2 separate regions of the Homo sapiens genome follow, and region 1 is linked to region 2. The links are contacts of gene promoters, found by promoter capture Hi-C in blood cells and fetal thymus (Javierre and others, 2016). All regions are on one chromosome and are shown on one strand. Each heading gives the region's core, a stretch centred on a gene start or on the middle of the fragment in contact. The rest is flanking DNA. Distances are from core to core; before and after follow the strand shown. Region 1 has its middle 6.6 kb from the start of NR3C2. Region 2 holds the start of ARHGAP10 (Rho GTPase activating protein 10).

Evidence for each region. The method cuts DNA at HindIII sites, captures the fragments that hold promoters and counts their contacts. A CHiCAGO score of 5 or more calls a contact.
Region 1: a contact is called between a fragment that was not itself captured here and the fragment with the promoter of ARHGAP10 in region 2, in 1 of 17 cell types (total CD8 T cells). The highest score is 5.3, in total CD8 T cells.

What each region holds. Positions count from the first base shown.
Region 1 is chr4:148,445,933-148,452,150 of GRCh38, forward strand. No RefSeq gene overlaps it. Among named protein-coding and RNA genes, the nearest start is that of NR3C2, 6.6 kb to the left of the region's middle. The HindIII fragment of the contact is 261 bases long and covers 1,286-1,546 here.
Region 2 is chr4:147,727,254-147,733,487 of GRCh38, forward strand. It overlaps ARHGAP10 (Rho GTPase activating protein 10), which reads left to right and starts at 4,835. Exons shown (of 23, transcript NM_024605.4): 1 at 4,835-5,202. The coding sequence starts at 5,049. RefSeq lists enhancers at 4,446-5,338, 5,339-6,231, 5,552-5,621 and silencers at 4,532-5,051, 5,362-5,441. The HindIII fragment of the contact is 2,455 bases long and covers 3,234-5,688 here.

The sequences.
Region 1 (6,218 bases), core at 166-2,665, 720 kb after region 2:
GGGTTTGGGAGGGGGGAGAAGTGTGAGTGTCACTACCAGTTAACCGGCTCCCCTGCTGTGGTCCCTTTTGACTCAGTTAAACCCCACCAACTGACCACACACACACCCCTTTTCTGGCTTAACACTCCTTTTTCTGCAGGCTCTATTGCCCCCTTCCACCCCCGCCCTTCTTTGGGTTCTTTCCCGTTTTATTCCTAAATAGCTGTGAAAGTTGCTAATCCCTTCCCACATAGACCCGTGTTAAACACCGAGGTGCCCTGTTAAAACAATCACTGCCTTTCTCCTTCCACATTCCCACTGTCCTGACAGCGAGCTTCCCATTGCCTCCATCACCTACACAGTTTTGGCACGACTCGGTTCTTAGCTGGCTCAAGGTAACAATTTGGCCTCTAGTAAAACAACCTTTTGGCTTTTCTTATTTGTAGGAAAGGCTTCTAGGTTCATATTTACTGCATTCTTAAGGTATATCTTAAGATGGTGATCAAGAAAATATTTACGTATCAGATATTTTGAAAAATAACATTCAGTGAGTTTTAAAAAGAACCATTTGGAAGTGTACTGATGTCTGCAAACTAATTTGGAAGTGCGTGCATCAAAAATAAAATGCAGCAACATTGGTGGATTGATAAAATGGACAGAAGGATGGATAGATATGTGATAAAACATGTTGATAATGCAATATTAATAGTAGAATATAAGTGCTAAGTATACAGGTGTTCACTGTAAAGTTCCTTCAGCTTTTTTGTGTGTTTGAAATTTTTCATAACACAATGTTGGATAAAAAGAACCCCCCCACTTAAGGTAACCTATATAATGTAAATTGTTTCCAAAACTTACAAATTGGGCATTGATTATTGTTTCCTCCTTTACAAAATGATTTTCTATAACAATTCTTAAGCTAGGTACTCCCACCACTATTTTAATCAATGATTTCAATTAAGGACAATTTGATCAAATTAGGGTGTACAGTGGGGTTATTATAACTGCAACATTTTAGAAATTTATAAGGTTTCTTCCTGTGTTTCTTTTGTCCATTTTATACATACACACACACACACACACATACACACACACACACAAACTGTTCTCAAATTTTCATCTTCCCTGCTTTTAAAACAGTTTGGTATTACAAAGCTAAGATTGAATTTTTAAGCAGATATGGATATTCTTTTGAAACTTTTTCACAAAATAGCTTGTGGGGAGTCCATTTGCCCTTATTTACAGTATCAGCTTATCTTACCCCTTGGGAGAGATGTTAGGGGATCTTGCAATTATTAATAGGCAAAGCTTTATTTGTTTTTTGGTATCTGAGTCTTTAAACATTTGCCCAAATATTTGAATGATTAAGTTTCCCCTGGGTAAACCACTTTTATATTTTCCTCTGCTGAGAGACAAAAGGTGGTCCTGTGACACCCTGAAAAGTGAACAACTTTGGGATAAGATCTGAGTCTCCCTCATCTGAAGAGAAGGTGGCACTGGTTTTGCTTGGAATCACCCCACAAGTGATGCCTCAGAGGGATCTCTTCAAAGAAGATGGGTTTTTAGAAGCTTAGGAATACTCTTCATTCCAATGCCCATTCATAGAGAGCCCGATCAACTCAGAAATATGTGTGCCTAGTAAATGTCAATATTTAGTTGTTTTCTGAGATGTCCCTTAACAAAGTTTGTTGCTTTCGTCTTTTTATGTAAGTGTATTTTTTCCTTGCAAAAGGATAGAAATTTTTTCAAGAAAAATAAAAGGGAGAATTATCGTACGGAAAAGGACGTTAACTTCGTCTCCTATGTAGCTGCCAAATAGCTGAAAGCTTGAAGCAGCATCAGACATCTCCCTTTTGACAATTGCTCTCCCTCTATTCACAGTCGCTGAACCTCAGGACACCTCCCTCCCCCCCATCCCATTAATGTCAAACTCCCTGAGGTTTGCCACTAAAGTGCACGACTCAGCGTTTGCAATTTACATGTGTGACATCACATCCTCTATTATGTAACTTCAGATACAAAGCCTAATATCATCTAAGTTTGTGTTGGAAAAAAATCCTCCCTAGCTCTCTATTTCAGCTTTAGCAGAACCACCCCTTAGTTCTCTGCTCCGAATCCATTCCTTCAACAGCTGACACTGAGGGGTGGGGGGAAAGCCATGGAGTTAAGCTGTAAAATTATAAGCCAAAAAAAAAATTGAACATGTATATGTTGAAATGTATTATGTACTTCTCCATTATCTATTTACTGACAAGAAAGTAAAGACCAATAGGTATCATATAATTTAATCATATTCAATAATTTTTAAAAGTTAAAGGCTAAGCATTTGGTCCTAGTTAACTTCATTAATAAGCCTAGCCATGCTGGCATTTTTTTTTATTTCTTTCTAAAAAGCTGGGATTTTTTTTTTTTTTCAGTCTCTTACCAGCTGTTGGAAAGAGTTGAGAAAGACAGGGAGAGTCAGAAAGAGAAAGGAGGGGGGTGTTGGAGAGAGAAGATGAATAGAGGAATAATATAAGATAAAACTTCTTCTTTGTTTATTGCAAAGCACACATGTTACAGTTTATAAACACTGCAAGTAAATAAGAAATTGTAGACCAGAAGATAAATACAAAACATATCAGGGTTTTTGTTAATATCCAAAATAGCCCAAACTCAATTTTCTAGACTACTTGGAATATTTGTATTAGCTTTGGTTATTCATTAATTTCTGTATTTGTTTACCTTATTATTTATTCATCTGGCTACCTTAATTCCATCTGTAGTCATTTTAAATAGAAAATATGCAAACTTAATACATTTTTATGGCCAGATTTTGAGATGACAGAGCACCAAACAGCACATGCATCACAATTAGTATGCCATATTATTAGAAGCAAATCAGATTTCACCGTGCCTACACTGATGTTCTAAATTTAGAAATAATGTACAGTAGTTGAAAAAGGGGAGGAACTTAGAGCAGTATATTTTAATAAAAATAAAGACATTTTCAATTTCTCCTCTTTTTTTCATATATTCTTGGTTTAGTACAAGAAATTCATCACCTTTAAATAACTGTGCTAATCTTACATAAATAATTGCATGATTTGTGTGCTCATTAAAATTATGCCTTGAAGCTGTTTCTGCAATATTATGTACAGTAACAACCGCAAAAAAAGTGAGACAATCCAATGGGTCAGGTGTGGGAAATGTAAGTCTCTGTTGAACTTGATGAAACACTCATTTAGAATTTCTCATTAGGACTTCACAGGAGCAGTTAGCTTTTCAGTAGTTGGCACTATATTTTTAGCAACATTTTAACAGCTGTCAGTAGCAACTAAGACAACATCTTTGTCAACACTATTTTTTAAACTCTAGCAAAGATGATTGCAAAAAAATGCTTCAGGATTTAATCTTTAGCCATAAAAAAAGTTAGTGTGATATAAAATATTATTAATGCATTGCGGCAGGCAATAAGGTATCCACATAAAACGAGTCCACTTGAATTTTTATATTTTAATTTTCTCAACCCGGGCAACATAGCAAGACCCTGTCTCTAAAAAATAGTTTAAAAAATTAGTTGAGTGTGGTGACATGCACCTATAGTCCCAGCTACTTGGGCAGTTGAGGCAGGAGGATAGATTGAGCCTAGGAGGTTGAGGCTGCAGTAAGCCATAATCGCACCACCGTACTCCAGCCTGGGCAACACAGTAAGACCCTGTCTCAAAAACAAAACAAAACAAAAATTAATTTTCTGATGCCTAAGTATACATAAGAAAGATAATTTAAAAAGATAATTCTTAAAATGTGTGTTCAGTGTCAGAAACAGACACTATAATTCTAGGTTAAGAATAGCCATGTAGATAGCCAAAGTGAATAAAACCTTCTCCCTAACATTAGAGTTAATAGAGGGAGGTTATCACATGTCAGATATATGACACTGGAAGCAGCAAACAAAAAATGTAAGAAGCTTCATGACAGATGTCATCTTTATTCCTAAAGATAGAGGTAAATTTGCTATGGGTAATGCATTACAAAACAAACTAAAACTAAATATCTGCAAGTGTCAAATTTCCCTTTCACCTATAGTCTTCCCAAATCGAGTGATTTTTGTTACATGAGAAGTAGGGGTAATGGTATAATATTAGAGAAGCCTACTGAATCCTCTTATTCATAGGTCATCTGCTCATTTCGAAGACCTAATCCAACTTTTGAGTTTGTCCCAAGTAAGGCAGCTGAGTATTTCCTACTTCATCTAACTGGCACAGTGGAGAGTTTATGCATTCTTATATCAAATGATATTTTTATTATATTGCATTTGTGTTCTCTAATCCTTTTGGGGTTGCTAATCTATTAGCTCTTTCAATATGAAGCATTTTTTAATTGCTTCTTGGGATTTTTTTTTTCAAAAGACATGTACAGTTTTAGTAAAAGTCAAGGTTAGCTATCCCTTCCTCTAACCAGGTGCAAATCTTTCAATGCTGATAGTTTTTCACAGAGTACTATATAGTTTTATTAATATGTACATTTTGACATTGAATATCCATGTTTAAAATGTTTAAATGTTTAAAATGAACACTTTCTATATGGAAGGTATATGACATGTCAATTCTTAAATATTTAAACTATAAGCTATTTTGAAGTAGTTAGTGCTAGTTATAACTAGACCTTAATATTTTATCAAAACAAGTAGACATGTTTAGAAATAAACCTAGTTTAGTACTTTAAAAAATTTCTTGCCGGGCATGGTGGCTCACACCTATAATCCCAGCACTTTGGGAGGCTGAGGCAGGCAGATCACCTGAAGTCGGGAATTTGAGACAAGCCTGACCAACATGGAGAAACCCCATCTCTACTAAAACTGCAAAATTAGCCAGGCGTGGTGGTACATGCCTGTAATCCCAACTACTCGGGAGGCTGAGGCAGGAGAATTGCTTGAACCCGGGAGGCAGAGGTTGTGGTGAGCCGAGATCGCGCCATTGCACTCCAGCCTGGGCAGCTAAAGCAAAACTCCGACTCAAAAAAAAAATTTTAAATTTATATATATATATATATATATATATATATATATATATATATATTTAATGGTGTTTACCATGAATGTGGCAGAACCATATCTCGTAAGCAAAGGCTGGGTAGACTTAACAATGCTAATGTACGATGATAGTGTGATAGTGTTGATTGCTTCCTTGTGTAAAGGACCAAATAAGTACCTAAAGGGTTGGGATTTTACTAGGACCATGTGTGCACGAAACATTTCCTTTTTTGTTTTTAATACAAGACACATAATTTTATAATAATTGCATATCTTAAAGAAGAAAAAATTCTAAGAAAATTATTTTTATAACATCATTTCAACATGATCAGTTGTATACTATTACCTTTTCATTTATAAATTATGTTGTTTTTATTTTGAATTTGAGTACCACTGAACGGATGTTTTGTCTGAAATATAATTAACAGTTTTCTAATTACCTTTATTTGTAAACAAAATTATTGTTATAATTCAGTAACAACTACCAAGGAACAAAATGCAATATCATATATACATATCTTTTTATCTACTATGTTATTTCCATGACATCACAAGACCAGTACTAGAAGGCAGGTAATGGTACCTTAACAAACAAACAAGCAATAGACCCGAGAAGTAAATCAAGGTAATCACAGCAAGTATACTCATGAAGAAACTCAACCAAACACTAAGTTTTGCAGAGAATTCAAAAAGCCCAAGGTGCAAGAAAGGGTCCTAAGTCTAGGTCTTCTTAATAAAAAGTCTAAGCAGAAATTTTCAGCCTAGAGATGTGTTTTACACAGGTTCTTTTCACAGGACAAGCAAATCAAGCAGTACAGTAGAGTCAGATTGAATGGCTTTGAATTCTGGCTTCGTCACTTACTTATGACCCACGTCAAATAACTTATTCTAAGTTTAAGTTTCTTTATTTGGGAAACATTGTTTTTTTTTTTTTTTTATTGAGATGGGATCTCGCTCAGCCACCCAGGATGGAGTGCAGTGGTGTGATCTCGGCTCACTGCGATCACCATCTCCCAGGTTCAAACGATTCCCCCATCTCAGCCTCCTGAGTAGCTGGGATTACAGGCACTTGCCATCATGCCCGGCTAATTTTTGTATTTTAGTAGAGATGGGGTTTCACCGTGTTGGACAGGCTGGTCTTGAACTCCTGACCTCAGGTGATCCGCCAGCCTCAGCCTCCCAAAGTGCTAGGATTACAGGTGTGAGCCACCACGTCCAGCCATGT
Region 2 (6,234 bases), core at 3,585-6,084:
AGGTGTGGCCATTTGATTAAGATCTGGTCAATGAGATAAAAAATAAAATGTTGTGTGAGATGCACAGGAATGCTGAGAAAAGAAGCTGATTCAGTGAGGACAGGGGCCCTTCTATCCTTTCCCTTCTTTCCTCCCAGAAGGACCTCTAGGAGCCATCTTGTACCATGAGGTGACATTGAGGATGGAAGCCAGTGCTTCCTTGGGGACTCTGGAATCATGGACTCCTTTTTATGAGAGAGAGGGAAATCTAAACCCCTTATGGTTTAAAAACCAGTGATTTTGGATTTTCTGTTATAATGTGTCTGAACCTAATTCTGACTCACAACCTGAAACATATCCAAGGATTCAGTAGACCCATATTTAACTTTACAGGTAGGTACTTTGTGAGTCATCACAACACAAAAACTACAGTATGGTATGCAGCAGAACCTACATCAAGGGAAGGTTTCCTATCTGTTAACCTCTATTTCATGTAGACTGAAACTTGACCAGCTTGCATTGATTCAAATCCCTAACTAATCCAAGCACTGAGTAAAGCATAAAAATGCCATTTGGGTGTCAGTGCCTACATGACTTAAGTACTTGAATGTCTCCCAGGCATCTCAAACATTTCATGAGTTTATACTGAAACGCATCCTTCCAACCCAGTCATCACCAACACTGCCATGACAGCTTCTTACCTCATGTTATCCTTTCAGTAAGTGGCATATCCATCCACCTAACTTACCATGCCACAAGCCTGGGGGCCACCGCTGACCCCTTCTTCCTCATTTCCAATATCCAGGCTATTGTCAAGTCCCAGAATCTCCTTCTAAAATATACTTCATTTCTGTCTATTTCTCGCTGTTTCCTTGGAGGGTCACCTTGGAGGATTGAGCTATTCCATTTCTTGCCCAGACAACTCCAACCACCTTCTGTCTGGATTTCCATTCTCCACACAGCAGCTAGAGAGAAAACACAATCCGGATCATTTTACTACATGCATAAAACTCTTTAAAGGCTCCCAACAGTGTTGGGATACAGTCCCAAATCCTAAATAAGACTTAGAGGCTCTGCACCATCTGACCCTGCCTATCCTCCACCACCTGGCATAGTTGTGAGCCAGTCTCTCTCACTGGGCTTCAGCCACCGACCTGTTCATCTCTTGAGTGTGCCATCTCAGGGGCCTGCACAAGCTGGTCCCATGTCTGTACTACTCTGTTCCTACCCCTATTTAACAGTTAACTCCTACTGATATTCCTGGTCATTGATTAAATTATCATTTTCATATCACTTCCTCAATGAGGCCTTCCTTGACCCAGCCCCAATCTCCATCAGGTGTTCCAATTATAATCTCTCACACACCCTTCACTTTAACTGCATGGTGCTTCAATTTTCAATTGGATATATATGTGTGTGATTTTTCTTTTTCTTTTTTTTTGGGATGAGGCCAGTCTCCCCCAGAGACCAAAAGCACGGTGAGGACTGTTTTGTGTGCTGCTGCATCATGAGCACCTAATACGGTGCCTAATACATATAAATGATCAGTAAATATTTGTGGGAATAATTGATTAATTAAGATGAAACCTGGAAACTCAGTAGCATCTGCTTTTGTGGCCACTTTTCTTGAGTTCTGTCTTACATGGTTTAAAACCATGATTTAAGGGCTCTCCTGCCCCGAAAATCTTTCCCACATTGATGGAATGTAATCTGTCTCCTCCTCTCCCTCATCCCTCTCTTCAGCCCATCCTCCACACTTCCTTCTTCCTTGAGTCTCATTATTATCATAATTTTCAGCAGGCACTTTACAAACACAATTTCATTAAATCTTCTCAAGCAACCTGCAGCTGCAATGTCATCATCTCCATTTCACTGATGGTAAGTCTGAGGTTTACAGAAAATTACCTTTGCTAAGGTTGCACAACTGTTAAGTAGTAAAGCTGGAGCTGGAACTACTAAATATCTATCTTTCCACTGTCCACTGTACAGAGATTTCTCTTCAGTTAGTTATACTTATTCATTCCACATTTACTGATCACTTGTATACCAGACACTGCATAGGCATAGCTGAATAAAACAAAATTAATCAGGCCCCTCCACTCATGGTAATTATTGTGGACCTATTTGGTAATGAATTAAGATTCATATTCACTAGCTCTTTAACACTGGGTGTACATGTGTGTGAAGTGATAAGTAATATTTTTTATGATGTTTTGACATTGTTTTAAACAACTTTTTTTTTTCTCCAAATATCTAAAGAACTGGGCACACTGAATAAACCAGAGTTTTTACGGCTTGAAGTCTAATGTGGTAAAGGAGAAGCAGTTCTAGAGTAGTTCATCTTAAAAAAAATTTTTTATTGAGATATATTTCACAGACCAAAAGAAATCCACCCATTTATCACATACAATTAAGTGATTTTGAGTATATTCAGAATTGTGCAACCATTACCAAAATGTAAATTTAAATTGTTTTCGGCCAGGCTCGGCGGCTCACTCCCATAACTCCAGCAATTTGGGAGACCAAGGTGGGAGCATCATTTGAACTAAGGAGTTTGAGAAAAGCCTGGGCAACATAGTGAGACCCTATCTCTATGAAAAATAAAAATATTAATAATTTTCATCACCCTGAAAATAAACTCCTGACTACATATACCCTCCACTCTATCCCCCAGTCTCTAGCAACCACTAATCTTTCTGCCTCTATAGATTTACCTGTTTTGGACATTTAATATAAGTAGATAGTATTGGCCTTTTGCAGCTAGGTTCTTTTACTTAGTATAACGTTTTCACCGTTATTGTGCCGTAGCACGTGTCAGTACTTCATTCCTTTTTATTGTAGATTAATATTTCATTTTATGGACAAACATTTTGTGCATCCATTACACAGCTGACAAAGGACATTTTGGTTGATTCTACTTTTTGGCTATTACGAATAATGCTGCTATGAATATTTGTGTGTAAATATTTGCGTGGACATATATTTTCATTTCTTTTGGGTATATATCTAAGCGTGGACTTGCTGGGTCACACGGTAACCTCCATGTTCAATATTGAAGAAGTCTCAGCAGCCCCTCTATGAGAAAAGGTTTGGGTTTCTGCTCTGAGGATTGAGTGTGGTCAGTGCTTGGCTGTTTCGCTAGGCCCTCATTTTTGTTTACACCCCCTCTCTTCTTGTCTTTCTTCCCCTTTATTTGCCTCTTTTATTCTCTTTTCTGTAGACTCCAGTCTCCTGCTGGTTTTAGTAGGAACTGAAGCTTTCACCGCCTAAAAGTTATTTGTAAAACACTTTGAACTCTCTGGAGGATGGACATTAGAGTAATAATGTTTATCTGTGGGTTAGGCACTCCTGGTGCTGTTTTGTAACAAAAGGGCTTATTGAGTAGGAGGCTTATTTAACTTGTTCGGGAGGGTTACCCTCCTACAACATGCTGTCCAAACAGATTCTTAATTACCCAGCTGAGAGTCTGAACGTCTTGAGGAATTACTTTGAAGTTTCTCGTTAATATTACCATCATATCATGTAAGTCTATATCGCGAGTTTGTAGATGTATGGAGTTCCTAGTGGGTGCCCGGCACATAATAATTGCTTAATAAATTGCGATTATGAAACGTTACTCTAATGAACTATTAGTGTTTTTTTTTAAGAAATACTTTTTTTTTTTTTTGAGACATTGTCTCGCTCTGTCGCCCAGGCTGGAGTGCAGTGGCACCATCACGACTCACTGCAACCTCCGCCTCCTGGGTTCAAGCGATTCTCCTGCCTCAGCTGGGACTACAGGCACGTGCCACCGCACCCGGGTACTTTTTGTATTTTAAGTAGAGACGGGGTTTCACCATGTTAGCCAGCTGGTCTCCAACTCCTGACCTCAGGTGATCTACCCGCCTCCGTCTCCCAAAGTGTTGGGATTACAGGCGTGAGCCACCACGTCCGGCCTAAGGTATACATTTTAATACTTTAAAATGCCTAACTTTTTTTGGGACACACTGGAGTTGTTTCATAACACACAAAATAGGCTTTTTGAGGGCACTGACATAAATTCTCATTGATCGTCACCCCCACGCGGTGAAAACCACACGTTACCTGGCATGTTTTCCGGTAGTTATTTTTAGAATAATAAAGATCGTCTTCACCTACCCCAGCAAATTTAATGTGCTGAACACAACAGAAACAACTTTTCTGTGGTTTAGCCAGCCCTCTCTCTTCAACTAAGTTATTTAGTGCGGATACGCAGAGAAGTGTAATAGGAGCTGCTGGGCCACCAAGAAAACGCTCTTGCCATTGTAAGGCTTCGATCTCAAGCGGAGATTTACCACGCATCTCACTTTAAACTGGGAAAGGAACCGGGATAAGGAAAAGAGCCCCCTGTGCGAGTTCGTTCCCAGCTCGGGGTTGGGGGCGTCCCAGGATAAATGAGATAAATGAGTTAATCATCTCCTGCAAGGCAGCCACTTCAGAGTTATGTCGCCCGCCTGCGGGGACTAACGACTGCAATTAAGACGCTCCTTCTCGGTCCCGGTCGGGTTCCGTGCAGCGGGGAGCCGACTGTGAGTCACCCCGGCCCCGGGAGCCCAAGCAAAGGGGAGGGGAGAGCGCCCAGGGTGGAGGGGAGCCGCGGGGCGAAATTCTAGCCCCAGGACGCCTCGGAAGGAAGAGGAGGGGCAGCTGCGCGTGGGGAAGAGAAGGAAGAGGCGTCCAGGGAAGGGAAGGGAGGAAGAAGGAAGGCGGAGGAAAGAGAAGGGGACGAGCGGGAGCGCGGGCCCGGCCGGGTGGCGCCTCGGGGAGTGTCTGCCGCGCGGGGGCCGGGCGGGGCGGGGCCGCGGGCGCTCAGAGCTCGGCGGGGGCTGCCGGGATTGGGGCGCCGCAGCTAGCGCTGGTCTCGGTGGCAGCTCCTCCGCGCCGCAGGACTCGGCTCTACGGGACATGTCCGTGCCGCGCTCGCCGCGCGCCCGGGCCTGCTAGCTCCTCTGTGCTCCCTGAACGCGCGGCGCCGCACCTGGCAGCGGCCTCGGAGCTCGGCTCGGGCAGGAGCGCGCGGCCGTGCGCACCGCGCAGCGACCGCTGCCGTCATGGGGCTGCAGCCCCTGGAGTTCAGCGACTGCTACCTCGACAGCCCGTGGTTCCGGGAGAGGATCCGCGCTCACGAAGCGGAACTCGAGAGGACCAACAAGTTCATCAAAGAGCTCATTAAGGACGGGAAGAACCTCATCGCTGCGACGAAAAGTAAGCGGGGACGCGGGCGCGGACGGGCTGCGGCGTGGCGAGGCGGCTGGGGGAGCCTCTCTCGGCAGGAGACGGAGGGTCTTGTGTCCGGGGCCAGCAGCCAGAGGAACGGGGAATTCATTCCGGACCAGCCCAGCTCTCTCGGAACCCCGGGGGGTCCCTGGAATCATTCCTCCTCGAGGCAGCGCGGCGAGTCCCCATTCCCGCCCCTGCGGCTCTGCGGCGGCGGGAACCAGCTGCCAGCGGGCCCCGCCTGGGCCCCGCCTGGCCCCGGCCGAACACCCCTCGCTGAATGCGCGCTCCGCTGGACCGACCCTAGGCACTCCTGGCCCGGAGTCAGGTTTCATTGCTGCCTAAAGCTACTCACAATCTCTTACAAAACCGAGGCATCTGTTTGCCTAGTTTTGTTTTGTGACTTCTCAAAAGAAATTTCTTGGGGATTCTTTGAAACCCTGCGGGAGTGTTGAGTTTTCCAGAGTCCCCTTAAGCTTCACCTTTTCCCTCTCATTGTCTGATCTTCCCCGACAGTCCTGTTCCAGGTCCTTCACGTGCCAAACCAGAAAGTCCACCTGGCTTTATGCTGCTTCCGCACATTCCTCCCCTGCCGTGCTGAGGAGGGTTCAAAGATTGGGGTTTGGAAGGGTGAGCGGACAGCCTGCCCTCTAGCCTAGGCGGGCACTGCTTGCAAATAGGGAATTCCACCCCGGTTAGGCTTGGTGCCTTCCTCCCCTGAACTTCTGTCTCTTAAACTCGGAAGAAGACACGAGATACAGGAGAGATAACTGTATTTTAGTGTAGTTGAGGAGAGTCTTTCTAGGAGAGAAGGGGCCAAAATTCATGCAGAAATACTGAGTTAGTGATGCTACTGGAAAATGGGGCGGAATTAGCCCCAGTGAGGAGCTGGGCAGCCTGACCATCCCTTGGATCCATAACCCCTTCGGAGGATGGCGGTGAATGTCCCCTTTCCCCCTTTAAAAGACCTGTCCATACAGCAGACAGGGACTTGGGCAGTATCCAGCCTTGAGGGGCTGG